7 separate regions of the Homo sapiens genome follow, and regions 1, 3, 4, 5, 6 and 7 are each linked to region 2. Evidence: promoter capture Hi-C in 16 types of primary human blood cells and fetal thymus (Javierre and others, 2016). All regions are on one chromosome and are shown on one strand. The core of a region is centred on a gene start or on the middle of the fragment in contact, and the rest is flanking DNA. Distances in the headings are between cores, read along the strand shown.

Evidence for each region. The method cuts DNA at HindIII sites, captures the fragments that hold promoters and counts their contacts. A CHiCAGO score of 5 or more calls a contact.
Region 1: a contact is called between a fragment that was not itself captured here and the fragment with the promoter of PRRT3 in region 2, in 1 of 17 cell types (erythroblasts). The highest score is 5.3, in erythroblasts.
Region 3: a contact is called between a fragment that was not itself captured here and the fragment with the promoter of PRRT3 in region 2, in 1 of 17 cell types (monocytes). The highest score is 5.2, in monocytes.
Region 4: a fragment that was not itself captured here is called in contact with the fragment with the promoter of PRRT3 in region 2 in 2 of 17 cell types (M2 macrophages and total CD8 T cells); the score reaches 6.9 in M2 macrophages.
Region 5: a contact is called between a fragment that was not itself captured here and the fragment with the promoter of PRRT3 in region 2, in 15 of 17 cell types (endothelial precursors, activated CD4 T cells, naive CD4 T cells and 12 more). The highest score is 10.0, in endothelial precursors.
Region 6: a contact is called between a fragment that was not itself captured here and the fragment with the promoter of PRRT3 in region 2, in 2 of 17 cell types (monocytes and activated CD4 T cells). The highest score is 5.6, in monocytes.
Region 7: a contact is called between a fragment that was not itself captured here and the fragment with the promoter of PRRT3 in region 2, in 2 of 17 cell types (erythroblasts and M2 macrophages). The highest score is 6.2, in erythroblasts.

Annotation. Positions count from the first base shown.
Region 1 is chr3:9,478,125-9,481,466 of GRCh38, forward strand. SETD5 (SET domain containing 5) reads left to right here. Exons shown (of 23, transcript NM_001080517.3): 23 at 1-30. Among named protein-coding and RNA genes, the nearest start is that of LHFPL4, 74 kb to the right of the region's middle. The HindIII fragment of the contact is 2,021 bases long and covers 638-2,658 here.
Region 2 is chr3:9,950,335-9,953,760 of GRCh38, forward strand. It overlaps PRRT3 (proline rich transmembrane protein 3), which reads right to left and starts at 2,074. Exons shown (of 4, transcript NM_207351.5): 1 at 1,988-2,074. All of the region lies in intron 3 of PRRT3-AS1 (PRRT3 antisense RNA 1), which reads left to right. RefSeq lists a silencer at 1,573-2,112. The HindIII fragment of the contact is 9,295 bases long and covers 1,560-3,426 here.
Region 3 is chr3:9,676,392-9,679,740 of GRCh38, forward strand. MTMR14 (myotubularin related protein 14) reads left to right here. Exons shown (of 19, transcript NM_001077525.3): 8 at 926-996; 9 at 1,593-1,667. Among named protein-coding and RNA genes, the nearest start is that of CPNE9, 26 kb to the right of the region's middle. The HindIII fragment of the contact is 349 bases long and covers 1,525-1,873 here.
Region 4 is chr3:10,209,637-10,212,932 of GRCh38, forward strand. It overlaps IRAK2 (interleukin 1 receptor associated kinase 2), which reads left to right. Exons shown (of 13, transcript NM_001570.4): 4 at 1-56. Among named protein-coding and RNA genes, the nearest start is that of TATDN2, 37 kb to the right of the region's middle. The HindIII fragment of the contact is 2,369 bases long and covers 194-2,562 here.
Region 5 is chr3:10,261,485-10,265,035 of GRCh38, forward strand. The region is part of intron 3 of TATDN2 (TatD DNase domain containing 2); the gene reads left to right. Among named protein-coding and RNA genes, the nearest start is that of TATDN2, 15 kb to the left of the region's middle. RefSeq lists a silencer at 2,451-2,640. The HindIII fragment of the contact is 1,822 bases long and covers 965-2,786 here.
Region 6 is chr3:9,656,812-9,660,266 of GRCh38, forward strand. The region is part of intron 2 of MTMR14 (myotubularin related protein 14); the gene reads left to right. Among named protein-coding and RNA genes, the nearest start is that of MTMR14, 9.0 kb to the left of the region's middle. The HindIII fragment of the contact is 1,454 bases long and covers 586-2,039 here.
Region 7 is chr3:9,495,702-9,499,058 of GRCh38, forward strand. It overlaps LHFPL4 (LHFPL tetraspan subfamily member 4), which reads right to left. Exons shown (of 4, transcript NM_198560.3): 4 at 2,660-3,357. Among named protein-coding and RNA genes, the nearest start is that of LHFPL4, 56 kb to the right of the region's middle. The HindIII fragment of the contact is 1,526 bases long and covers 1,184-2,709 here.

The DNA.
Region 1 (3,342 bases), core at 398-2,897, 470 kb before region 2:
TCTTAACCATAATAATCATAAAGTTGAGAACTTCTTTGTCCAATTTTGTGGCCCTGCCTTGCCTGGTTTTCCTAATGCCATTTTTATCTGAGGAGAATGTGCCCTTGGTGGAGTTGTTTTGCCCATGATAATGGGGCCAGGAATACTGTCTGATCTTCCTTCGCTTTTTATGATTGCAGTCAGGACAGTGTGAAGGCAAACCTGCAGCAGGGCAAGTGAACATTAAAAACTGCCTTGAACTTGAGTGGTGTTCCTGACCTTGGCCTCATTCATTCAGCAACTATTTATTGGTCTTTTTCATTCAAAAACAATGCTGGACATTGTTTTTGGTGCTGGGCTTATGGTGATTAGAATGCTGATTGGGGGTGGGCAAAGTAAGGTCTCTTCTTTCATGGAGTTTACATTCTAGTGGAGGAGAGAACTAAACTAGTATATAATTTTAAATAGTCATTGCCATGTTAATTGTTTCATAGCAGATATGTGACTAAGACAGTTGAAGGAGCCACTCTAGATTGGTTGGTCAAGAAAAGTCTCTGAGGAGTTGACATTTAAACTGAGACTTCAGTGACAAGGAGGCAGTCCTGGGACGATGTGAGTGAAATTCATTCTTGAACGTTGCAGACTCTGTGGTAGAAAAAGCTTGGTTAAGATGTAATAAATGGATGGGGCTGGGAAAGAGGATAGAAGATCCTGTAAGAGGGAGATAGGGGACAGATCATGTAGAGCAGGAGTCGGCAAACTCTTTCTATAAAGGGCCAGATAGTAAATATTTAGACTTTGCAAGCCATGTATGGTCTCTGTCATAACTATTCAGCCCTTTGGCTGGGTGCGAATCATGCCTGTAATTCCAGCACTTTGGGAGGCCCAAGAGAGCAGATCACTTGAGGTCAGAAGTTCGAGACCAGCCTGGCCAACATGGCAAAACCCTGTCTACTAAAAATACAAAAATTAACCAGGTGTGGTGGTGCGCACCTGTAATCCCAGCTACTCAGGAGGCTGAGGCAGGAGAATCTCTTGAACCTGGGAGGAGGAGGTTATAGTGAACCAAGGTCACTCCACTGCACTCCAGCCTGGGTGATGGAGCGAGACTCTGTCTCAAAAAAAAAAAAAAAAAAAAAAAAAAAAACAACTATTCAGCTCTTCCATTGCAGTGCAAAAGCAGGCATAGACAGTATGTGGCTATGTTCCAATAAAACTTTATTTACAGGAAACAAGTGGCAAGTTGGATTTGGTTTGCAGGCTGTAGTTTGCTGGTCTCTAATGTAGAACCTTGTAGGTATAATTTAAATAATCTGCATTCAGTAAGTACAGTGGAGGAGTCATTGCAGGATTTTAAGGAGAGAAGTGACATTGTCTAATTTATATTTGGTTGATTTTTAAAAATTACTCTGATTGTTTTGATCCTGTTGGTGAAGAGATGAATAGGAGCTGAGAAACTGGTGTGGAAGGTAGAGCAGTTGTTCAGGCAAGCAACAATGCAGTGGTGGCTTCTATTAAGACGGTAATGATGGGGATAAGAAGTGATTGGAGTCAGGATATGTTTTGCAAGTACACAGCAGAACTTGCCAATGGATTGAATTGGCAGTATTCTAACATTTGTTTGACAAATGTTTACTGAGTAACTAAGGTAGACTGCAGTTTGCAAAGCACATAAGGGATTCAAAGATGAAGATGCTATTTATTAGTTGAAGGAGTTTAGAAATGGAAGGCTGGGCGTGGTGGCTCATGCCTGTAATCCCAGCACTTTGGGGGGCCAAGGCAGGCGGATCACAAGATCAGGAGTTTGAGACCAGCCTGAACAACATGGTGAAACCCTGTCTCTACTAAAAATACAAAAATTAGCCGGGCGTGGTGGTGCGTGCCTGTAATCCCAGCTCCTTGGGAGGCTGGGGCAGGAGAATCGCTTGAACCCAGGAGGCAGAGGTTGCAGTGAGCCGAGATCGTGCCACTACACTCCAGCCTGGGCGACAGAGCGAGACTCCGTCTCAAAAGAAAATAGAAAGTGGAAACATAACAAAACCACTTGTTTTATTAGAAGATCCCTCCAAAATGCCCTAGGAATACCTAGGTAACCTACCACCAACCACAACCTGATTCTACCTGGGTTAGGAAGAGAATAGTGTGCATGATCTTTAGAAAGTGTTTCCATATACAGTGTCTTATTTTGACTCATAATTCTGTGAAGAAAGCAAGCCAAATGCCAGAAGTTAAAGATGAGAAATTGAGACCTAGTACAGTGTTTCAGCTATAGCACTGGGCTTCTGATAATGAATAAAACTAACTGATTTCTGCCATAATTGGAAGGTTCTGTTCCATGACCATTGGCTGAACACCTACTGTGTGCTAGGCTATATCTGAGGTGCTGAGAATATCAAGGTAAGACAGTCAACTGCCCATTCAGAGTTAACCTATTTGCTATTCTTTTCAAGTACTTACTGTGTTGCTAGGGACTTTGCTTTTGATATGGTGTAAATCAGAGGTGTCCAATCTTCTTGGCTTCCCGGGGCCACACTGGAAGAATTATTCAACATGTAAAATACACTAACAATAGCTAATGAGCTTAAAAATATATATATATTTTAAGAAAGTTATGATTGTGTTAGGCCGCATTCAAAGCCATCCTGGGCCACGTGCAGCCCGTGGTCTGTGGGTTGGACAAGCTTGGTGTAAATAGAAGCTAGACAATATTAATTAAAGAGGCCAGTGCAACAGTGGCACCTTCTATGTCACTTTACACTTTCCTGGACTCCACTTAAGTCATCAGCTACCTCATTTACATGTAACAATGTGCAAGGTAGGTATAAGTTCAGAAGATACAACTTATTCAAGATTTCTCTCTTTTAAGTGGCAGACCCAAACCAACAGTTTTGGAAATTTTGCAGTTAACCCAGAAAACAAATAGAAACAGCTAGAGATGCTGTGACACTATGACCAGAAATCACTTACCTAGCTGAAAAAGTATATGGTACCCTTTACTGTCTTAAAAACAGCAGTCTGGCCCTTTTGCCCCCCAGGTGTCAGTTTGACAGTGTAGGGTTCTCTGTTTAGCAGAGGTTACCATGAAGAAAAAAAAAAAATGCAGTTGTCCAAACGAAGCAGGCCCTTTGCTTTTAAACTGCACTGATGACAACCCGCATAATCTGCTGTGAGGCTCAGAGAAAGGAGTTGACCGAGGGTTCGTTCTGTTTTTATTTTAAGAGACAGGGTCTCACTCTGTCACCCGGGCTGGAACGCAGTGGCATAATCGTAGCTCACTGCAGCCTTAACCCTCCAGGGCTCAAGCAATTCTCCTGCACCACCACGCCCAGCTAATTATTTTTTTGTAAAGACAGGGTCTTGCCA
Region 2 (3,426 bases), core at 824-3,323:
CCATTTCCCTCAAGAAAGAACATAAGCTCCTCTCCTGGCCTTCCAAGACCCTGGCCACCACAAGCTGTTCATCTGTCCTCCAACACCCACTGGACTGTGTGGCTCCCATGCCTTTTGCTTCTGCTGTTCTGTCAGCAGGGAATGCTCTCTCCCTTCCCCTTCACTTACTGAAATCCTGTTCTTTTTGAGACGGAGTCTTGCTCTGTCGCTCAGGCTGGAGTGCAGTGGCGTGATCTCGGCTCACTGCAACCTCCACCTCCCAGGTTCAAGTGATTCTCCTGCCTCAGCCTCCCGAGTAGCTGGGGTTACAGACATGTGCCACCACACCTGGCTAATTTTTATATTTTTAATAGAGATGGGGTTTTGCCATGTTGGCAAGGCTAGTCTTGAACTCCTGACCTCAGGTAATCTGCCCATCTTGGCCTCCTAAAGTGCTGGGATTACAGGCATGAGCCACTGCACCCTGCCTGAAATGTTATTCCTAAAGGCCCACTTCAAAAATGAGAGACGTGGAGAGGGAGAGGAATATGCACCGGCCTTTGGCGAGGGGCCTGAGTTTGAATCCCAGTGTCTTCATTTCCTGGGGGAGTCATTTCACCTCTCTGCATCATAGTTTTCCCATCAGTAAAATGGGGATAATAAGCATGCCTAACTCAAGGCATGAGACAAATAACCAAACAGGTATGGGCGAGGTTCATACCTGATGCTTGACAAGCGTTACACATTCCTCTTCCCGCCTTCCTTCCCTCATCTTCCTGGGCACTTGTCACTCTGGTCTGATTCTATAATAATCTCCTGCCTCTTATTTCAAACCTGCAGCCTCCAGTATATACCTGGCCCCACGTGGATATCCCCTAAAAGTTCCTGTTCTCGAGAGCCTGTCAGTGGGCCAGGGAGGCAGGAAGGGGCCCCACCACCAGGAGAGGTTTCATGGAGGGTGCGAGAGCTGAAGCCTGGGTGTGTTTGGCGGCAGAGGCCCTGCTCTTTTCCTCTCTGGGGAGCAGCTGTCCCCAAAGCTTCCTGGCTGTTAACCCATGGTGGCTCACAGACACCTTAAGAAGCCACTGAAAACCCCTGGTGCTCTCCCGGGGAAAAGACCCAGGCTCACCGAAAGTTGTGAACAATTTCAAGGGGTTCAAAGACCTTTGAGTCCCATCCTCCAAACTCGAGTTTAGACTCTGTCTTAAAGCCTTGTTAGTTCATTTCTCAAACATTCACGGAGCCCCATGGGCTGCTCCTGGTCTAGGCTAGGTGCTGGGGGCCCAGAGACAGGGCTTTGCTCCAGGGTTGGGAGTAGGGGTGCGCTGAGACGCCCCTAACACAGGTACTGGCTAAAAACAGTGCTCCTGTGTTTAGTTCTTTCCCAGTGAGGCTCCTGCGCTGAGCTTAGCAACACGTCACTCCGCCCTCCCAATACAAGGTGTGGGAACAGCCATTTCACAGGGGGAAGAAACGGGGGTTCAGAGAGGGTGAGCAACTCCCCCAAGGTCACACAGCTGAGTGGACACAATCGGGGTTGTGAAACCCTCGGAGGCTCATCTTCCACAGGAGGTCCAAAAAGCTTTGCCGAGAAAACGGCTGAATGGGGCCTCCAAAGATAAACATGCCATCTGCCTACCACTGCCAACCCAAGAGATGTGGGCACCTGCGGACAAGGCGGGGGCTTGCCCAGCCCTGGGCTCCCACTCTGCTGGAGAGGCTGTGGGGGGTGGCGGATCTCTCTGCCGCAGGGACTGGGGAGAGGCCGGCCTGGGGGCAGGGCGAGGCCGTTGCGGGGCAGCCTCGGAGCTGGTCCATCTCGGGTTACCTCTCCTCCTCCTCCTCCTCCTCCTCCGTCTCCTCTCTCCCTGGCTCCGCGCCTTCCCGCAGTGTCCTGGATGGGGGTGGGCGCCGTGCAGGCCTGGTCGCCTGCGCCCGCGACGGGGGCAGCAGGCCACGCTCCCCGTCGGGGTCCCGCCATCGCCCCCTCCCTGGGCCAGCTCCTCACCTGCGCGCCGCAGCCCCCGTGTTCACCTTGCGCGCGTCCCTGCAGCCGATCGCCGCGCCGCATCCTCCGAGATGCTCAGACTCGGCTAACAGAGCCCGGCGCTGCCGATCGCGAGCCCGCCCACAGGAGCGCAGCCCTGCTTAACTCTTTCCCCTTAGGGGTGGACTCTTCTGTCAACCCTGACTTCCCCTCGCTCAGGGATTGTCAGGGCTCAGAGTGGAACCGAGGTCATCTCTGAGGGATGTGGAAATGTCTTCTGCAGCATCCCTGAAAACGGGGCAGCTAGCCTCTGCTTGCATACCTCATGGGACGGGGAGCTCACTTCCTTTCTATATCCCTACATCCTTTTAGGTAAATCCTACCTACAGCTTGGTATGTATCCTTCAGATTCTTCTCAATGTACAGTTACATGTACATCTTAAATAGAAATGACATCATACTGTATACTTTTTTTTTTTTTTTTTGAGACAGTCTTGCTCTGTCGCCCAGGCTGGAGTGCAGTGGCGTGATCTCGGCTCACTGCAACCTCCGCCTCCCAGGTTCAAGTGGTTCTCCTGCCTCAGCCTCCCTAGTAACCATGCCTGGCTAATTTTTATATTTTTAGTGGAGACAGGGTTTCACCATGTTGGCCAGGGTGGTCTCGAACTCCTGACCTCAGGTGATCAGCCCGCCTCGGACCCCCAAAGTGTTGGGATTACAGGCGTCAGCCACCGTGCCCAGCCACTGTACACATTTCTGTAATTTGTCTTTTTCACTTTCCAATATATTCTGGCACATTTTTCATGTAAATATCTATAGATCTATATCATTTCTTGTATCCACTGTTGAGAATTCCAGCATATGGTCAGCTAGTTATTGTTCTTTATCCTGTCCCCTGTAATTGGACATAGGTTGTTTCTAGCCTTTTGCTCGCAGGGATAATGGAGCAGGGGCCATTCCTTGCTTAACACATCACTGTGCACGTACACTAGTGCACCTACCAGATAATTGCCTAGCCGAGGCATGGTAGTAAAATCTATGGGTCTGCATATGGGGCTGGTAGACACTGTCAAAATGTTCTTGGTCTTTCTTTGAACACCTCTTGATATACTAAACATCCATTATTAGGCTCAATTCCTTAAGGGAAAGCCACACAGGAAATATATGTGGTTATCAAAAATGAGATAGGGCTGGGTGCAGTAGCTCACACCTGTAATCCCAGCACTTTGGGAGGCCTAGAGAGGAGGATCATTTTGAGCCCAGGAGTTCAAGACCAGCATGGGCAAGATGGTGAGACTTTTTTAAATTAAAAAACAAACAAAAAAACAAAAAAACTAGCTGGGCGTGGTGGTACATGCCTGTAGTCCTACCTACTCCAGAGGCTGAGGCCAGAGAATCATTTGAGCCCAAGAGGTCAAGATTGCAGTAAGCTATGGCCACTGGAGTGTCACTGGAGTGCA
Region 3 (3,349 bases), core at 449-2,948, 270 kb before region 2:
TCTGACCAAGGCAGCCAACTCCAAGCGCAGAGCAAAGTAGTTGACTTCACGCTGTGGGCTGGCACTGTGGGCTCTTGTTGCAGTGGCAGCGTGATGACAATAGTGTGCTGCCATTTGAGTGTCACTTGGACCAGTGCAGTGCTAGGTGTTTTATATGTATTATGTCATCCTTAAACAGCCATTTTACAAATGACAAAATCAAGGCTTAGAGACATTAAACAACTTGTTCAGCGTTACAGTGTTAAGTAAAAAGCTGAGATTTTAAGCTGGGAATGTTGCCAAAGCCCTATTCTCTCCAGTGTTTCTCTCTGTTCCTGAGGGCTTGTCCTGGTGGAGTTACTTATGATTTTTCCACCAAAGAATATAGAAAAGTGCCTCTTTGCTTGCTTTGTTGGGCATGGCAGTGTCTCTTGAGCACCGGGTTTTAGGCACTGTCCGTGGGCCTTTCCAGTATGTTAGGATGTTCAGTCTTCACTAAAAGCCTGCAAGGCTAGCATTATTTGCCCCCATTTTAGAGAAGAGGAAGAGTGATCCTCTGCAGCTAGGCTGCAGTGGCTCACGTTGTGAGTCATGCCTTTGTTTACTGGGATTGGCACTACAGAGACCTGTAGGACAAAGGGACTTGCAATGTGGGGGAAGTGACTGGTGACCAGTGAGCATAGATGGAGAAAGTTACAAAGAGGCTGAGAGCAGGCAGTGCCTCGTGGAAAAGGCATGCAGCCAGGAAACCAGAGGGGCTCTAGAGGCTCGCCCCTGGCTTTTGCCCACCCGTGTCAGCCTTGGCCTCACTGAAGCCACTAGCTTGGAGAAGTGTGAGTTGGCGGCCCCCTCTCCACAGCACTCAGGGACCTGGGTCTGGCCAGGGCTGTCTCAGAAGACTTTGGGCTGGGAAGGGAGATGTCATAACTCTGCCCTTCTTTTCCAGGCTGTGAATTTTTCAAGGAATATAAAGATCGGGATTACATGGCAGAAGGGCTCATATTTAACTGGAAGCAGGTATGAGCAATAACATACATCAAATTGGATCTATGTCTCTTTGTAAAGGGAGGCCAAGGAGAACAACAAGCAGTCTTTGGGGAAAACAACAAGCAGTCTTTGGGGAAAATAACTCCCCTTTCCTCCCTGATTGTTTCTGTCTTCCTCTCCCTCTTCTCCTTGTATATACTTGTTAAATTTTCATCATTATACTTTCCTCCCCCCTTTATTTCTCTTTTGTTTAAGGGAATTTTTCAGAAACAAGATAGGAAAAGCCCTTCCCTTCTGTACTCTCTGTGTGAAAGCTGGGGGCAGCATTCTTTGCCTTCCCCAGCCTGTAGGGGCAGGCTATGGGAAACCTGCCGGAAGCTGAACACATATTGATCTTGCATGTTTCAGCAACAGACATCAAATGTCCGACTGAAAAACTCCTACTCAGCTATACTGATCTGGTCACATTGATTTTTAAGCTGTCACTCCCAGGTAGCACAGGTATCTGGCCCAGAGAAGGCAAGCACTGCCTGTGGTAGTCACAGCCTCAGGACTGCAAGCTTCCCCATCACCTAAGCCTCCTCTGGTGGCCAACCCACATCTCACAGGAGTCTTTCTGTCCCCAGGACTACGTTGATGCCCCATTGAGCATCCCCGACTTCCTGACTCACTCTCTGAACATTGACTGGAGCCAGTATCAGGTGAGGGGCCTGACTCAAGCATTGAGGGCAGGATAAGGGAGTGGTGACCAAGGAGACTCTTGATGCCTGCCCCACAAGGCCCTCGTGTGTTTGCCTGATGGGCTGGCTTGTGCACTCAGATGCCTTTGGCCCTCTGTCCTCTCAGAAAGGAGGAATTGTGTGTCCGTTCAACTATCTCCTGATTTGCTCATGTCCCAGAAAATCAAAGCTTTCTGAACGTGACTCATTCAAAGATTTGCATCCACCAGGGGGTTCTGTTTCCAGAGGACCTCATAGAGTCTGCTATTCCAGATCTGGGCTTTAGTTACTTTTACATTTTTCCTTTTAAATGTGTGTTCAGCCAGAGGAAGTACAGAGCTGCCTGACCTCATTTGATTATAGAAACATTAAAATTACTTCCACCATGCTCTTCTCCGTCATTGCACACCATGGAAGGGGCCTCTAGTCTTACTGGAAACATCTCTCTACCCTTAGCCCACACAGTCTGAAGGCTGCCAGCAGCTTTGCTTGCCACTTGCTTCAGACAGAACAAGTAGTTTTGTTTTTCTGCGACCTTTCCCATGTCCTGTTCCTCTGCCTGGCTGCCACCTCTCAGCTTCCTCTTGTCTGGCTGACATACTGCCCTTCAGGCTTTGGCTCGAGTGTCTGCTTCAGGAAGACTTCCCTGATCTGCCTCTTCCTTATCCCTGGCGAGTTGGATGCCTGCATCTATATTCCCATTAACCCCCTGGGCACATCCATCATGGAATTTTCCACTGAGCTGTAGTCACTGATTTAGAGATCTGCTTCCCTGAAATCCTGGAGGACAGGGACCCACAGCTTGTGTGTCCCAGCACAGAAACAGGCACAGAGCCTAGAACTTGAAAGACTGAGCCAGTGAGCAACAGAAAACATTCTGCCTCCCTGCTAGTTTCCCCTGTCCCCAGGTCTGGACAGCTCCCACCCAGCCTTGAGATCTCTCTTTCTTTGAAAGGCTGACCCATCTATGTTAAGCAACTGGGTGCTCCTAGATCACCAATGTCAGTACCCTGTTGTCCTGATAGCAGCAAGGTCCATCTTGTTTTCTCTATATATATCCAGACCCTAATCACAAGGTTTATGCTCACAGCAACTGTTTGAGTGTATGAAGTAGGGTGATGTCAGAGTTCCCCAATGCAGGTGTTTGCAAGAGAGGGAGCACTGGGGAGGAAAGCAGACCAGTTGTTTGTTATGGTCTGGAAGCCTGGAGAAGGAACAGGTTTGGGGTACCTGTGCTGTGGTCTCATGTCCCAGGCTGTGCCTAGACAGACTGAGTAGATAAAAGAACCGGCAGGCTTCCTTCTTTATGTGCTGCATGCAGAGGTCAAGTAGACTCTGCCCCAAGCCACCCTCTTTCTGGTCCCTTCCGGCACCATTTTTTCTCCTTATGCAGGTACAAACTGGATCTGATGAACTACTCAGCAAATGAGATGTGACAGTTCCAGGCACTGGTCCCAAGGATGTTTGCCTCTTTAGGAAGGGGTCCTGTGCGTGTGAGGAGGTACTCTGCTTAGTAGATGCAGGCCCTAGATCTAGGTCCCAGCTTGCCTGGCCCTTCCTGCAAGGCTCTGTGGCCTTGAACAGATGACCTCACTTCCCCCTGAAAATGGTGTTGGCAGTACCTATTTCAGAGTTGTGCCAGGCTCAAATATGATCACTGCTTG
Region 4 (3,296 bases), core at 128-2,627, 260 kb after region 2:
AAGAAGATGCCCCTCATTCCTTGAGAAGCGACCTCCCCACTTCGTCTGATTCAAAGGTAAATCCACCCCTCGGCTGCAGCCCCCAAGCCATGTCTCCCAGCGTGTAGTTCCCTCTCAAAAATGCAATTTCTCTACCCCTTGAGACCAGTTTAAGGGTGGAGAGGAGAAAGGAAATTGCCATCAAATTACCCCAAGCTTCTAAGACTGTAAGTAGAGGAGGTCAATAATAGCGGGGAGAGGGAGGGAGGGCACTTCAGTGAATATACTTCTTGTTTTTTAATTTGTTATTATTATTATTTTTGAGACAGAGTCTCGCTCTGCCACCCAGGCTGGAGTGCAGTGGCACGATCTCGGGTCACTGCAACCTCCGCTTCCCGGGTTCAAGTGATTCTCCTGCCTCAGCCTCCCAAGTAGCTGGGATTACAGGTGCATGTCACCATGCTCGGCTAATTTTTTGTATTTTTAGTAGAGACGGGGTCTCACCATGTTGGCCAGCTTGGTCTCGAACTCCTGACGTCAGGTGATCCACCTGCCTCCGCCTCCCAAAGTGCTTGGATTACAGGCATGAGCCACTGCACCCGGCCATTATTTTCTTTTATTATTTTATTTTATTTTCGACCTGTGGTCTCAGCTACTTGGGAGGCTGAGGCGGGAGGATGGCTTCAGCCCAGGAGGCAGAAGTTGCAGTGAGCTGTGATCCTACCACCACATTCCACCCTGGGTGACAGAGTGAGACCCTGTCTCCAAAAATGTATGACCATATTGGTACGAAGATAAATAAAATCCAAGCAGGATTAAAAATGAGGACATTTCTTTGACTCTAAAAGTCCATTTATTTTCTTCTGATTTTAAAATAAATTAAAATGTTCTGATGGCCCCTAAAAGTGTTGTGAGCCTAGACCCTTTGCATCCAGTGCCTGGGGGAGAAGCCAGCTTTGCATGAGTGTGGTTAATGAAGCTCTTCCATGTCCCAGGTGTGGTGTCACATGCCTGTAGTCCTGGCTATTTGGGAGGCTGAGGTGGGAGGATCGCTTGAGCCCAGGAGTTGGAGACCAGCCTAGGCAACACAGGGAGGCCCCATCTCTAAATTAATAAATAGATCAACCTTCCATGAAGGATAAACCCAACACTTTGGGAGGTTGGTATGGGAGGTTCACTTGAGCCCAGTACTTTGAGACCAACCTGGGCAACAGTGTGAGATCCTGTGTCTACAAAAAAGTTTTTTTTGTTTTTGTGTTTTTTTTGAGGAGTCTCGCTCCATTGCCCAGGCTGGAGTGCAGTGGCACGATCTTGGTCACTGTAACCTCTGCCTCCCAGGTTCAAGCTATTCTCCTGCCTCAGCCTCCTGAGTAGCTGGGATTACATGCACATGCCAGCATGTTTGGCTAATTTTTTTTTGTATTTTTAGTGGAGACAGGGTTTCGCCATGTTGGCCAGGCTGGTCTTGAACTCCTGGCCTCATGTGATCCGCCCACCTCAGCATCCCAAAGTGCTGGGATTACAGGCATGAGCCACCGTGCCTGGCCAAAAAGTTTTTTTGAGACAAAGTCTCCCTCTGTTGCCCAGGCTGTCTCGACTCACTGAAACCTCTGGTTCCCCAGTTTAAGCGATTCTCCTGCCTCAGCCTCCTGAGTATCCGGGATTATAGGTGTGTGCCACCACGCCTGGCTAATTTTTGTATTTTTAGTAGAGACACGGTTTCACCATATTGCCCAGGCTGGTCTTGAACTCCTGGCCTCAGAGGATCCGCCTGCCTTGGCCTCCCACATATGGTGAGATTACAAGCAGTGAATCACTGTGCCTGGCCTCGCCAAAAAAAAAAGTTTAAAAAATAAGCCAGGCGTGGTGGCACACACCTGTAGTCCCAGCTACTTGGGGGCGCTGAGATGAAAGGATCCCTTGAGCCTGGGAGGTTGAGGCTGCGGTGAGCTGACATCATGCCATTGCACTCCAGCCTTGGTGTCAAAGTGAGACCCTGTCTCAAAAAGAAATCAAAACTATGTGTGTGGCATGATACCAGTTTTGTTAAATAAATCCTAGTATATCTAATTGGCCGGAAATACACTAACTTTAATAGCAGTTAAATGGATAATGGGGTTATGGATACTAATTTTCAAAAACTGTTAAGAGCATATGTAACTTAAAAAAATTGAAATTTAGGCCGGGCGCGGTGGCTCGTGCCTGTAATCCCAGCACTTTGGGAGGCCAAGTCGGGCGGATCACGAGGTCAGGAGATGGAGACCATCCTGGCTAACACGGTGAGGCCTCATCTCTACTAAAAAAATTACAAAAAATTAGCCGGACAGGGTGGTGGGTGCCTGTAGTCCCAGCTGCTCGGGAGACTGAGGAAGGAGAATGGCGTGAACCTGGGAGGCGGAGCTTGCAGTGAGCCGAGATCACACCACTGCACTCCAGCCTGGGTGACAGTACGAGACTCTGTCTCAAAAAAAAAAAAAAAATTACGTACATGTGTTTTAAAGAGAGAAGTTATTAAAAACGGAAACAGAACTTCTTTTTATAGGCTTATATACACATGCAGTCTCTGGAATTCTGTTTAAAGCAAGCTTGTCTTACTTGCCCATGGTTGTGTGCAGCCCAGGATGGCTTTGAATGTGGCCCAACACAAATTTGTAAAGTTTCTTAAAACATTATGAGTTTTTTTTGCAATTTTTTTTTTAAAGCTCATCAGCTATCATTAGTATTAGTGTATTTTATGTGTGGCCCAAGACAATTCTTCTTCCAGTGTGGTCCAGGGAAGTCAAAAATTGGACACCCCTGGTTTGGTTATATGAACCTGTATCCTACTTCCCAGGAGTCTGGAACCCCAGTATCTATGCTGTGAATTAGACCAAGAGTGCTGAGCTCGGCCACTGACCAGCTGTGGGACCTCACTTCAGCTGTTTTATTTCCTCAGTGCTTACTTCTGTAAACTGAAATAAAGGAAACATCAACCATGTGCCAGGAATACTCACATCTTAGTCTTCAAAATTACTCTTCGGGGTACTATTGTTACCTTCATTTTTGCTGATGGAAAAAATTGAGGCTCAGAGAGGTTAAGTAACTCACCCAAGGTCACAGAGCAAGATACAGATGGAGCTGGGATTTGAGCTTGGGCCTATCCATGTCCTTTTTTTTTTTTTTTTTTTGAGACAGAGTCTCGCTCTGTCACCCAGGCTGGAGTGCAGTGGCGCGATCTCGGCTCACTGCAAGCTCCGCCTCCTGGGTTCACCCCATTCTCCTGCCTCAGCCTCCCGAGTAGCTGGGACTACAGGCGCCCGCCACCACGCCTGGATAAT
Region 5 (3,551 bases), core at 626-3,125, 310 kb after region 2:
CTCAGCCTCCTGAGTAGCTGGGATTACAGGTGTGCGCCACCAAACCGGCTAATTTTTGTATTTTTAGTAGATATGGGATTTCTCCATGTTGGCCAGGCTGGTCTCGAACTCCTGACCTCGTGATCCACCTGCCTTGGCCTCCCAAAGTGCCGGGATTACAGGCATGAGCCACTGTGCCAGGCCACATTCCTCCATCTTACTCGTCTCCACCCATCCTTTACTACTGCTCTGCAGGCAGCTTCTCTCATCTTTAGCTCTTTCTTCTAGTACTTACCCCATGTTTCTAAATAATCTTTACTGTTGATCAGTTTTTCAGTTTTAGATGTCTGAGGACTTCTTGCTTGGGCGATGAGAATTTAGTTCTCTATACCTCCTTCAGAAGCACCCACACCCAGGGACACATTAGCTTCCCCTTTCTGCAGCCTCCCTGTGTGGCTTGAATACCTTTTGGGTTAAGTCTGTGTAAGATTTGTTACTGCCATGTTCACAGCTGAGTCGCCTTGTATACTCTGATCACATTTTCTTTCTTGTAAAACTTCATTTTCCTTAAAGTTCATCATTACTTTGTTTTTCCTTTGGTTTTCCTGGTACCTTTCACTAATTAATCCCCAAACTGCGAGAGCTGTAAAATCCTTCTCAATACTGTCAAAATAAGGAATCTGTTTCTTTTTTTTCTCTCTTGGAGGTATACGTCCTCAGCCCTCTGTTGTCCTGCTCTGGTCTGGACTGCCTGCCGTCAGGCCAGCTGGCAGCTGTCTCTCTGGAGCCTCCTTCACATTTCTCCCGGATTGAGTCTTCTGCTACCTATACTCTGTGTCTTCTCATGTTCTTCTTCCTTGGTTTACTCTCACATTTTGGTGGAATACTTTTTCTAGTAGCTTCTTGAGAAAGGGTACATGGAGAAACTTTTTTTGGTAAACATGTGTCTGAGATTGCCTTTATTTTACCTTTAACCTTGATTACAAGCTTGGTTGGTTTTGGAATTCCAGGTTGGAAATTGTTTTGTTTGGGATTTTGAAGGCATTGCTCCTTTTCTTCTGGGCTTTTTTTTTTTTTTTTTTTTTTTTGAGGTGGAGTCTCGTTCTGTCTTGCCCAGGCTGGAGTGCACTGGTGTGATCTTGGCTCACTGCAGCCTCCACTTCCTGGGTTCAAGTGATTCTCCTGTCTCAGCCTCCCGAGTAGCTGGGATTACAGGCACACGCCACCACACCTGGCTAATTTTGTATTTTTGGTAGAGACAGAGTTTCATCATGTTGGCCAGGCTGGTCTCAAACTTCTGACCTGAGGTGATCCACCTGCCTAGGCTTCCCAAAGTACTGAGATTACAGGTGTAAGCCACTTCGCCTGGCCTCTTCTGGTTTTCTTGATGTCTGAAGCTATGCTGGTTCCTGAACCTTGGTATATGATTTTTTATTTTTTATTTTCTTTTGCTTTGAGACAGAGTTTTGCTCTGTCACCCAGGTTGGAGTCCAGTGGCGTGATCTCAGCTCACTGCAATCTTCACCTCCCAGGTTCAAGCGATTCTCCTGCCTCAGCCTTGTGAGTAGCTGGGATTACAGGCATGTGCCACCACACCCGGCTAATTTTTGTATTTTTAGTAGAGATGGGGTTTCACCATTTTGGTGAGGCTGGTGTCGAACTCCTGACCTCATGATCCGCCCGGCTCAGCCTCCCAAAGTGCTGGGATTACAGGTGTGAGCCACCGTGCCCAACCTGTATTTTTTTTTTTTTTCCCTCTGTGGAATCTTGTAGAATATATTTTGATCTCAGGGCTCTGAAATTTCATGGTGGTGGTGTCTACTTTGCTTAGCATGGGACATTCCCTTTCAATCTAGAAACCCTTGTACTTTAGCTGTGGGAAAAGTTCGTGAATTACTGTACTTCGCTGATGTTTTCTTTCCGTATTTTTCTTCTCTCTTTCTCTCTCTAGCTTCTCTACCTTCTTTCTCTTATTTGGATGTTGGATTTTTCAGGACTGGTCCTGTAATTTTATTGCCTTTCTCCCTTGTTTCTAGCCAATTTCTTGCTTTACTTTGTAGGATATTTCCTTTTCTTTATCTTCCAACCCAGCTGTTTATTTAGTTTTACTTTTCTACTGTCATGCTTTTTATTATCCAAGAGCTCTTTTGTTTTTTAATAACATCTCTGTTCTTGTTTCATCTTCTGTTATCTCTTTTAGGGAGTTCATGGTAGTTTTTTGGCTTGGTTTTAGTTTTCTTTAAGTTGCTTCTTTCCGTTTCTTTTGATCTCTTCTGTGTTAGAGGCTGCCTTCACATGTCTGGTAATCTTTGGTTGTCTGTTTATGATCAAGAATGGGAGGATTAAAAAGCTGTTTGGAAGCTCTGAGCGTAAAGACTTTGAGCTTTGCTTTGGGATGATCGGGAGAATATAACCCTCTTCCCCTTGCCATGTCACTGCTTTTAGGAAAGCCTCGAGACTGGTCACCTTGCCCAGAGGAGTGTTTTTCAGCCTGCTTAGGAGGAAAGGTGGCTGGGAGCTGGGTAGCGAAAGGGGCGGCTGCGGGGGCGGCGTCAGCATTCACTTAATCTTTGTCTTTTTGGTGCAGTACCAGTGCCCTCCACTGAGCTGACCAGGCCTTATTCTAGAGATCCTCTTGTTTTACTGTCTTCAAACAACTCACCTTCTCTGAGTATGAGGAGGGAATCTGGGATCTAACTCATTGGAAACCAGATTTCACCCTGTCCTCCTCCTTTTAATGTTCTTCTGTAACTCCAGTTCCTCCAGTTCCCAAGGTGCCCAGTACCGCGAGTGCCTGCTCTGTTCTAAGCTTTCCTGGTGCCTAGCTTAGGTCTCAGCCTTCTCTTGGTCTGCCAGTGAGGTGTTATTTGGCCATCTGCTTTCTAGCCTCCAGTGCGTGATCACTGTAGTCTCTTGTTCTTCCTGTTCTGGTGTTTTTGTTATTGTAGAGGGGTTTTATTTGTTTTTTGTTTGGTTTTTAGATTCTTTAGTTTTAGTGAGGTTTCAGGAAAGAGTAAAATAAGTCGAATTTGTTCAGTACATCCTTAGCCTAGAAAAGTTCTGGGAAAATTTCTTGATTATTTGATTTCTTGTCTGTTTCTTCTTTTTCTGGACCATCTATTTTATGCTTGGTCTTTCGGATGGAAATTCCAATTTTCTTTTCTTCCCAGTGAATCCTTTTTAAAAAATTTTTCTGGATGGTTTCTTCAACTTTATCTTCTTTTTTTTTTTTTGAGATAGAGTCTCACTCTGCCACCCAGGCTGGAGTGCAATGGCTTGGTCTTGGTTCACTGCAACCCCTGCCTCCCAGGTTCAAGCGATTCTCCCGCCTCAGACCCCTGAATTGCTGGGACTATAGGCGCATGCCACCATGCCTGTCTAATTTTTGTATTTTTAGAAGGGACGGGGTTTCATTTTGGCCAGGCTGGTCTCGAACTCCTGACCTCAGGTGATCTATCCGCCTCGGCCTCCCAAAGTGCTGGGATTACAGGCGTGAGCCACCGCGCCTGGCTCAAGTTTATCTTCTAACGTTTATGTTGATTTTTTTTTTTTGGTCTTTTTTTTTTTTTTCC
Region 6 (3,455 bases), core at 63-2,562, 290 kb before region 2:
CTTCGTTCCCCTTCTTCCTACCCTCTTTGGTGCTGGCTGGCTGGTGGTTTTACCTCTGTGCCCTGATGATGACATTCTGATATTAAGCTCAGCTGTAATCAAGGTGGGTTTTTTTGTTTTTGTTTTTGTTTTTAATTAAGACGGGGTCTGGAATGCAGTGGCACAATCATGGCTTGCTGCGGCCTTGATCCCCTGGGCTCAAGTGATTCTCCCACCTCAGCCTCCCAAGTAGCTGGGAATATGGGCACATACCACCACTCCCAGCTGATTTTTTTTAATTTTTAGTAGAGACCAGGTCTCGCTGCATTGCCCAGGTGGGTCTCCTGAGCTCAACAGATTTCCTCACCTCGGCCTTTCAAAGTGTTGGGATTAGAGGTGAGAGCCACCGCACCCAACAGAGTGGTTCTTTTCTATGTTGATTTTATGAGTGAATCAACTGGGGATCTTTCTACAATGCAGAGATTCAGAAGACCTGAGGTGGGCCTGCGATTTGGCATATTCTAACAAGCTCTCAGGTAATACCAAATGTTACCCTTCAGTAACATAATAGTACATTGAGAAACGTAGTGGTGGTTGCCTTGTAAAAGCTTTTCCTGGAAGGAAACAAGTTTAGTGTTGATCCCTTAAAGAGACTGAAACTAGTATTTGTTGAGTACCTCTGTTTGGCAGGTGTTGAGGTTTTACTTGCTAGCTTAAGCCCTACAACTATTCAGTGAAGAAGACAGTATCACCACTCTTTTTTTTTTTCAATTTGATATGGAGTCTTGCTGTGTCGCTGAGGCTGGAGTGCAGTGGCGCAAGTGATCTTGGCTCACTGCAACCTCTGCCGCTCAGGTTCAAGTGATTCTCCTGCCTCAGCCTCCCTAGTAGCTGGGATTACAGGCGCGTGCCACCATGCCCGGCCAATTTTTGTATTTTTAGTAAAGACGGGGTTTCAACATCTTGGCCAGGCTGGTCTTGAACTCCTGACCTCGTGATCCACTGGTCTCGGCCTCCCAAAGTGCTGGGATTACAGGTATGAGCCACCGCGCCTGGCCCTCACCACTCTTTTATAGATGAAGTTGAAGCCCAGAGAAGTAATTTGCCTTTGCCGAAGATCACAGAGGTAGTAAGCAGAGTGGGGTTAAAAGCTGTATTTCCTGACTCTGTACCTGTCTGCCTTATCTTTCACCACCACGGCTCTCCCACCTTGTCTAGCAGAACCTCACAGTTAGGCCAAGGCCACTGTGGAACATGATTAACCTTAGAGGAGCTTGTTGGAGTTTGTTTTTACTTTTCACTCCTTGCAAGGCCTTAAAGTGTTACTGAAGTGATGTTGAGTGGGTGATGCCTGCTTGTTGAAAGGGGGGACTTCGGGTATGTTTGGGTGGGAAGAAATAGCATTTTTTGCTTTTTTACTGTCTGGCTTGGCTGTTACTATGATGCTGAATTAAACTGAATAGACTGAATAAAAAATAGACTGAATTAAACAGGGTAGAATTGGATTTAAGCAATGTTTTGGTCCTGTTAAGGAACCTCTCCAATTTGGTTCATCATCTGGGAATAGAAGCCTGGACAGGGATCTCTGAATAGCTAAGACATGTTTGTCAACAGTGTTCGTTCAGCTGCTGCTGTGTAGTAGACCTCAGGGATCAAGTTGGAAGCCAGATAGATGAAGTCCTTACCAGTAGGTCTAGTGGGAAACAGAGTCCAATAAAGAAGCAATAATTGTTAATAAAAGCTGGAATTAGGGGAAGTACAGGTGAGGCCCTGCCGGATAGTGGTTAAAACCATGGGCCCAGTGGCTACCCACAGGGTTTAGAATCTCAGCTACCCTGTTTACCTGTTCTGTGACTTTGGGCTAGAGATTTCATCTCATTAAACTACCTCATCTGTAAAATTGGGTAAGTGAGGACTGAGTGAGATAATGTGGGTGTAAGCTCTACTTTGTGCCTCTTATCTATTAAATAGTAGCAGCAGTAACATTTATCTCAGGAAGTTGTGGGGTACATTATAGGAACAAGCCACCCAGTTTGGTAAGTGTGGTGCCTGTCTGGGAAAGCTTCCTATTGGAAATATGTGATAACAGCATTTTCTTCTGTATTTGAAAATAGTTTGGCTGGGCATGGTGGCTCACGCCTATAATCCTAGTTACTTGGGAGGCCGAGATGGGCGTTTCGCTTGAACCCAGGAGTTTGAGACTGAATTAAACTGAATAGACTGAATAAAAAACAGACTGAATTAAACAGTCTGGGCAACATGGTGACACCTTGTCACTACAAAAAATACAAAGCATTAGCCAAGCATCGTGGCATGTGCCTGTAGTCCCAGCTACCTGGGAGTCTGAGGTGGGAGGATCACCTGAGCCCAGGAGGTCAGCTGCAGTGAACCATGGCGCCACTGCACTGCAGCCTGGGCAACAGAGGAAGACCTTGTTGGGAAAAAAACAACAAAATCTCACTACCTGGTAACATCTTGCCAGAAATTTCAGTGCATACATTACAAATGTAAATACAGAAGCCTACATTCATCCCTTCGAATGTGAGTATTATGTGCCAGACACAGCTCAGTGCTTAGCACTGCAATAAAAGAATCCTAAGGACAAGAGATAATAAAAACAGGAAAAAGTGAGAGAACAGAAACTGAATTGGTTCTTTTTTTTTTTTTTTTTAAGACGGAGTCTCATTCTGTTGCCCAGGCTGGAGTGCAGTGGCGTGATCTCTGCTCACCGCAACCTCCGCCTCCTGGGTTCAAGCAATTCTCCTGCCTCAGCCTCCCGAGTAGCTGGGATTAGAGGCGCGTGCTGCCACGCCTGTCTAATTTTTGTAGTTTTAGTATAGACGGGGTTTCACCATGTTGGCCAGGCTGGTCTTTACCTCCTGACCTCAGGTGATCTGCCGCCTGAGCCTCCCCAAGTGTGGGATTACAGGCATGAGCCACTGTGCCTGGCCAGAAACTGAATTGGAGCTTGATGTAGGGGAACCGGTAAAGGAACCACTGGCCGACCTAACAAGAAAAGGTGGGTCATTACATTAAAAGATCCTCCCTAGAGGAAAATGCTGATGTGTCCTCCACCAGGGGTGTTTTGTTTGTTTGTTTTTAACAGAAGTTTAGCCTGAGAAATCCACCTTGGTTTTGAGGCTACAACTCAACCTGGGAAAATCAGATGTAGGCATTTAGGGTTCAGAGGGCTGGTATGAGCTAAGTGAGAGTCGGTTGCAGCAGATGGTGCTGACCAGATATGTGACATCGGCCACGGGCCAAGTAAGTGGGAGGAAGGCCACTGTGGCAGTACTAAAGGTGCTCGGTTTTATATTCTTGTGGAGTCTAGTTAGGCAATTAATTGGTACCAAGGTGCCTTTTGATTTCATAGAGAAACTGGGTGAGGGGAAGGCAGCACACTCTGGTTCTCTGTGAGCTTGTGTGCCTAGGGCTGCCTGGTGGGTTGCTGCCACCCTACGGGCACTTTGCTTTTT
Region 7 (3,357 bases), core at 697-3,196, 450 kb before region 2:
TCACTAGAAGCAAATGCCAGCAACATGCTACCTGTACAGTTTGCAGAGCCATGCGCCAAAATAAATCTCTTTTCTTTATAAATTGCCCAGTTTGGCCAGGTGCAGTGGCTCATGCCTGCAATCCCAGCACTTTGGGAGACTGAGACAGGAAGATTGCTTGAGCCCAGGAGTTTGAGACCAGCCTGGGTAACATAACAAGACCCCGTTTCTATAAAAAATTATAATAATAAGGCCGGGAGCAGTGGCTCACGCCTATAATCCCAGCACTTTGGGAGGCCAAGGTGGGTGGATCACGAGGTCAAGAGATCGAGACCATCTTGGCCAACATGGTGAAACCCCATCTCTACTAAAAATACAAAAATTAGCTGGGCGTGGTGGTGCACGTGTGTAGTCTCAGCTACTTGGGAGGCTGAGACAGGAGAATTGCATGAACCCGGGAGACAAAGGTTGCAGTGAGCTGAGATCATGCCACTGCACTCCAGCCTGGCAACAGAGTGAGACTCCATCTCAAAAAAAAAAAGAGATAGCCAGGCATGGTGGTGCCTATGGTCCCAGCTACCTGGGAGAATGAGGTGGGAGGATTGCTTGAGCCTGGGAGTTGAGGCTACAGTGAACTGTGATCTCACCACTGCACTCCAGCCTGGGTGACAGAGCAAGACCCTGTCTCAAAAAAATAAAAATAAATTATGCAGGCCAGGTGCAGTGGCTTATGCCTGCAATCCCAGCACTTTGGGAGGCTGAGGCGGGTGGATCACTTGAGACCCGGAGTTTGAGACCAGCCTGGCCAACATGGTGAAATCCCATGTCTACTAAAAATACAAAAATTAGCCGGGTGTGGTGGTGCACACCTGTAATCTCAGCTACTCAGGAGGCTGAGGCAGGAGAATCACTTGAATCAGGGAGGCTGAGGTTGCAGTGAGCTGAGATTGTGCCACTGCACTGCAGCCTGGGCAACAGAGGGAGACTCCATCTCAAAATAAATAAATAAAACAAATGATGCAGTCTCAGGTATGGCTTTATAACAATGCAGAAATGGGCTAACAGTCTACCCCTAATCCAGCCCCCTAATGCTACCACCAGAGTGCTCTTTCTAAAATGCAAATTGAGTCATTTTTCCTTCTGCTTCAAATCCTTCAGTGGTTCCCCATTGCTCTTAAGTCCAAACTCCTGTCCATGGCCCCCAAGCTTTCTCATGGTCTGGCCCTCGCCTGTCTCTCTAGACTCATCTCTGACTCCTCCCTGCCTCGTACTTCACATTTCAAACTAAGTTGCTTTTCGTCCTCCATACACAGTTCTGCTGCCTACCTCAGTCTTTTTCCTCAAGCTGCCTTCTCTTTGACCTTCCTGACCCCTCCTGCCTAACTTCTCATCCTACAGCAAGACCTCCTCCTACGCTGCCCACGTCACCAAAAGCCATTTAAAGTATTCCTGCCTAGGATACCCACAATACCCTGCATGTGGCAAGTCATGCGTTATTTTCACATGTTCATCTCCCCAACCAGAATTATGCTTAAGACAGCATCTCTGTTTTGCTCATTTTTTTTCTAGCTTAAGTGCTTAGCATACACTAAGTGCTTAAAATGTGTTGGAAGAGGACTCCATTTCCAAGTCTTCAATGTAGCTACCTGGTACTGCGCACATTACAGCGTGCCAGATACCCTGCAGAGCAAAGTGCATATATTCCCTGGTATGTTGCTTACAGCTTCCCTTGGGGGAGTCACTATTGTTTTCTCTATTTATTCAATGGGGCTTTAGAGAGAGGCAAAGTGACTGGACTGAGCACTCTGGCTAGAGCAGATGAGGCTCTACTCTTTTCTGCCTGTATGGACTTGGACAAGTCGTGCCTGTGCTGTCAGAGGTGTGCAGAGATTACTGTATCCCTCTCTCTATTCACTCCTTTCTCCTTTGTATCAGAACCCTATTTTTTTTTTTTTTTGAGACGGAGTCTTGCTCTGTTGCCCAGGCTGGAGTGCAATGGCGCCATCCCACCTCCCTGCGACCTCCGCCTCCTGGGTTCAAGCAATTCTCCTGCCTCAGCCTCCTGAGTATCTGGGATTACAGGCACGCACCACCATGCCTGGCTAATTTTTGTATTTTTAGTAGAGACAGGGTTTTGCCATGTTGACCAGGCTGGTCTCAAACTCCTGACCTCAGGTGATCCACCCACCTCAGCCTCTGAAAATGCTGGGATTACAGGCATGAGCCACCTTGCCCGGCCAAGAACCCCAGTTTTATTTGGGCTGGCAATGCGCCGAGATAACAGACCACACTTTTTCAGCCTCCTTTACTGTTATGTGGCCCAAGTGACACAGTCCTATGGAATTTCCAGAAGTCTTCAAATGAAATGTGGACCAGGTGACTGGAGCTCCAGCAGCCCACGTTGGGCCATGAGGTGTTCTTGAGGATGTAGCCAGGATTGAAAATGGCAGTGCAGAAAGATAGGAGCCTGGGTTCTGGATAACACTGAGAGCCATATCAGCCGTGATCTACCCACCTCCAGGCTTTTTTTTTTTTTTTTTTTTTTTTTAATGTGATGGTAAAATAAACTATCTTGTTAAGCCACAGTAGTAGGGTTCTGTTAATACCAGACAAACCTGATCCATAGGGTTGGAATCTTACCCCTCTTGATCCCAGTGACTCAGAGAAGTGGCAGCCAGCGTGGGTGATAGAAAGTGTTTCTTTATTTGAATGTCATTCCACCTGCACTGAAGCTTAAACCCAGCAGCAGCAGAAGGGGTCAGGACCAAAATAAATGTTACCAAATTAGACAATGAACAGCGAGGACACACTCAGACAAAACTTACTAATGGGGTATAGACAACACCAAGCTATCCTAACAGCACACAGCACAGGCCCTCGGAGGCCTGCCCATCAGAGCTCTGCGGAAGGCTCCCTTGTTCCCTGTTCAGGAAACTCCAGTCCCACCCAAAGGTTAGCCGTGGGCCAGGCAGGGGCCTGCAGAAGTTTCTGGTGCTGGGAACATCCCAGCTTCTCCAAAGACAGGGTTTCCCTTTCTCTTTCTCAGTTCACACTGGAAGCTGGAGAAAGGTTATTCCCCGTGTGCCCAAGCAGGATGCTCAAAAGGCCAGGGACTCTCCCCACAGCCTTATCTAAAAGTTCTCATCATCTTGGCTATCAGGCCTGAAAAGGATCTTGATTCTTTGGTCCTCACCCCCTCAGGAAAGTTTTCCTTCATGGGTACCGGTCCCCAAAGACGAAAGTTTTCATAGCCCCGGTTCCCAGAAGGACTCAACTGACCAGACTGTGGGCCAGGGACTGAACCACCCCTAGGCTGTGGCTGCCGTGGCCTCTCCTGAGTCCCCAGATCAGGCAGAGAAAAGCGGGCAATGGCAGACC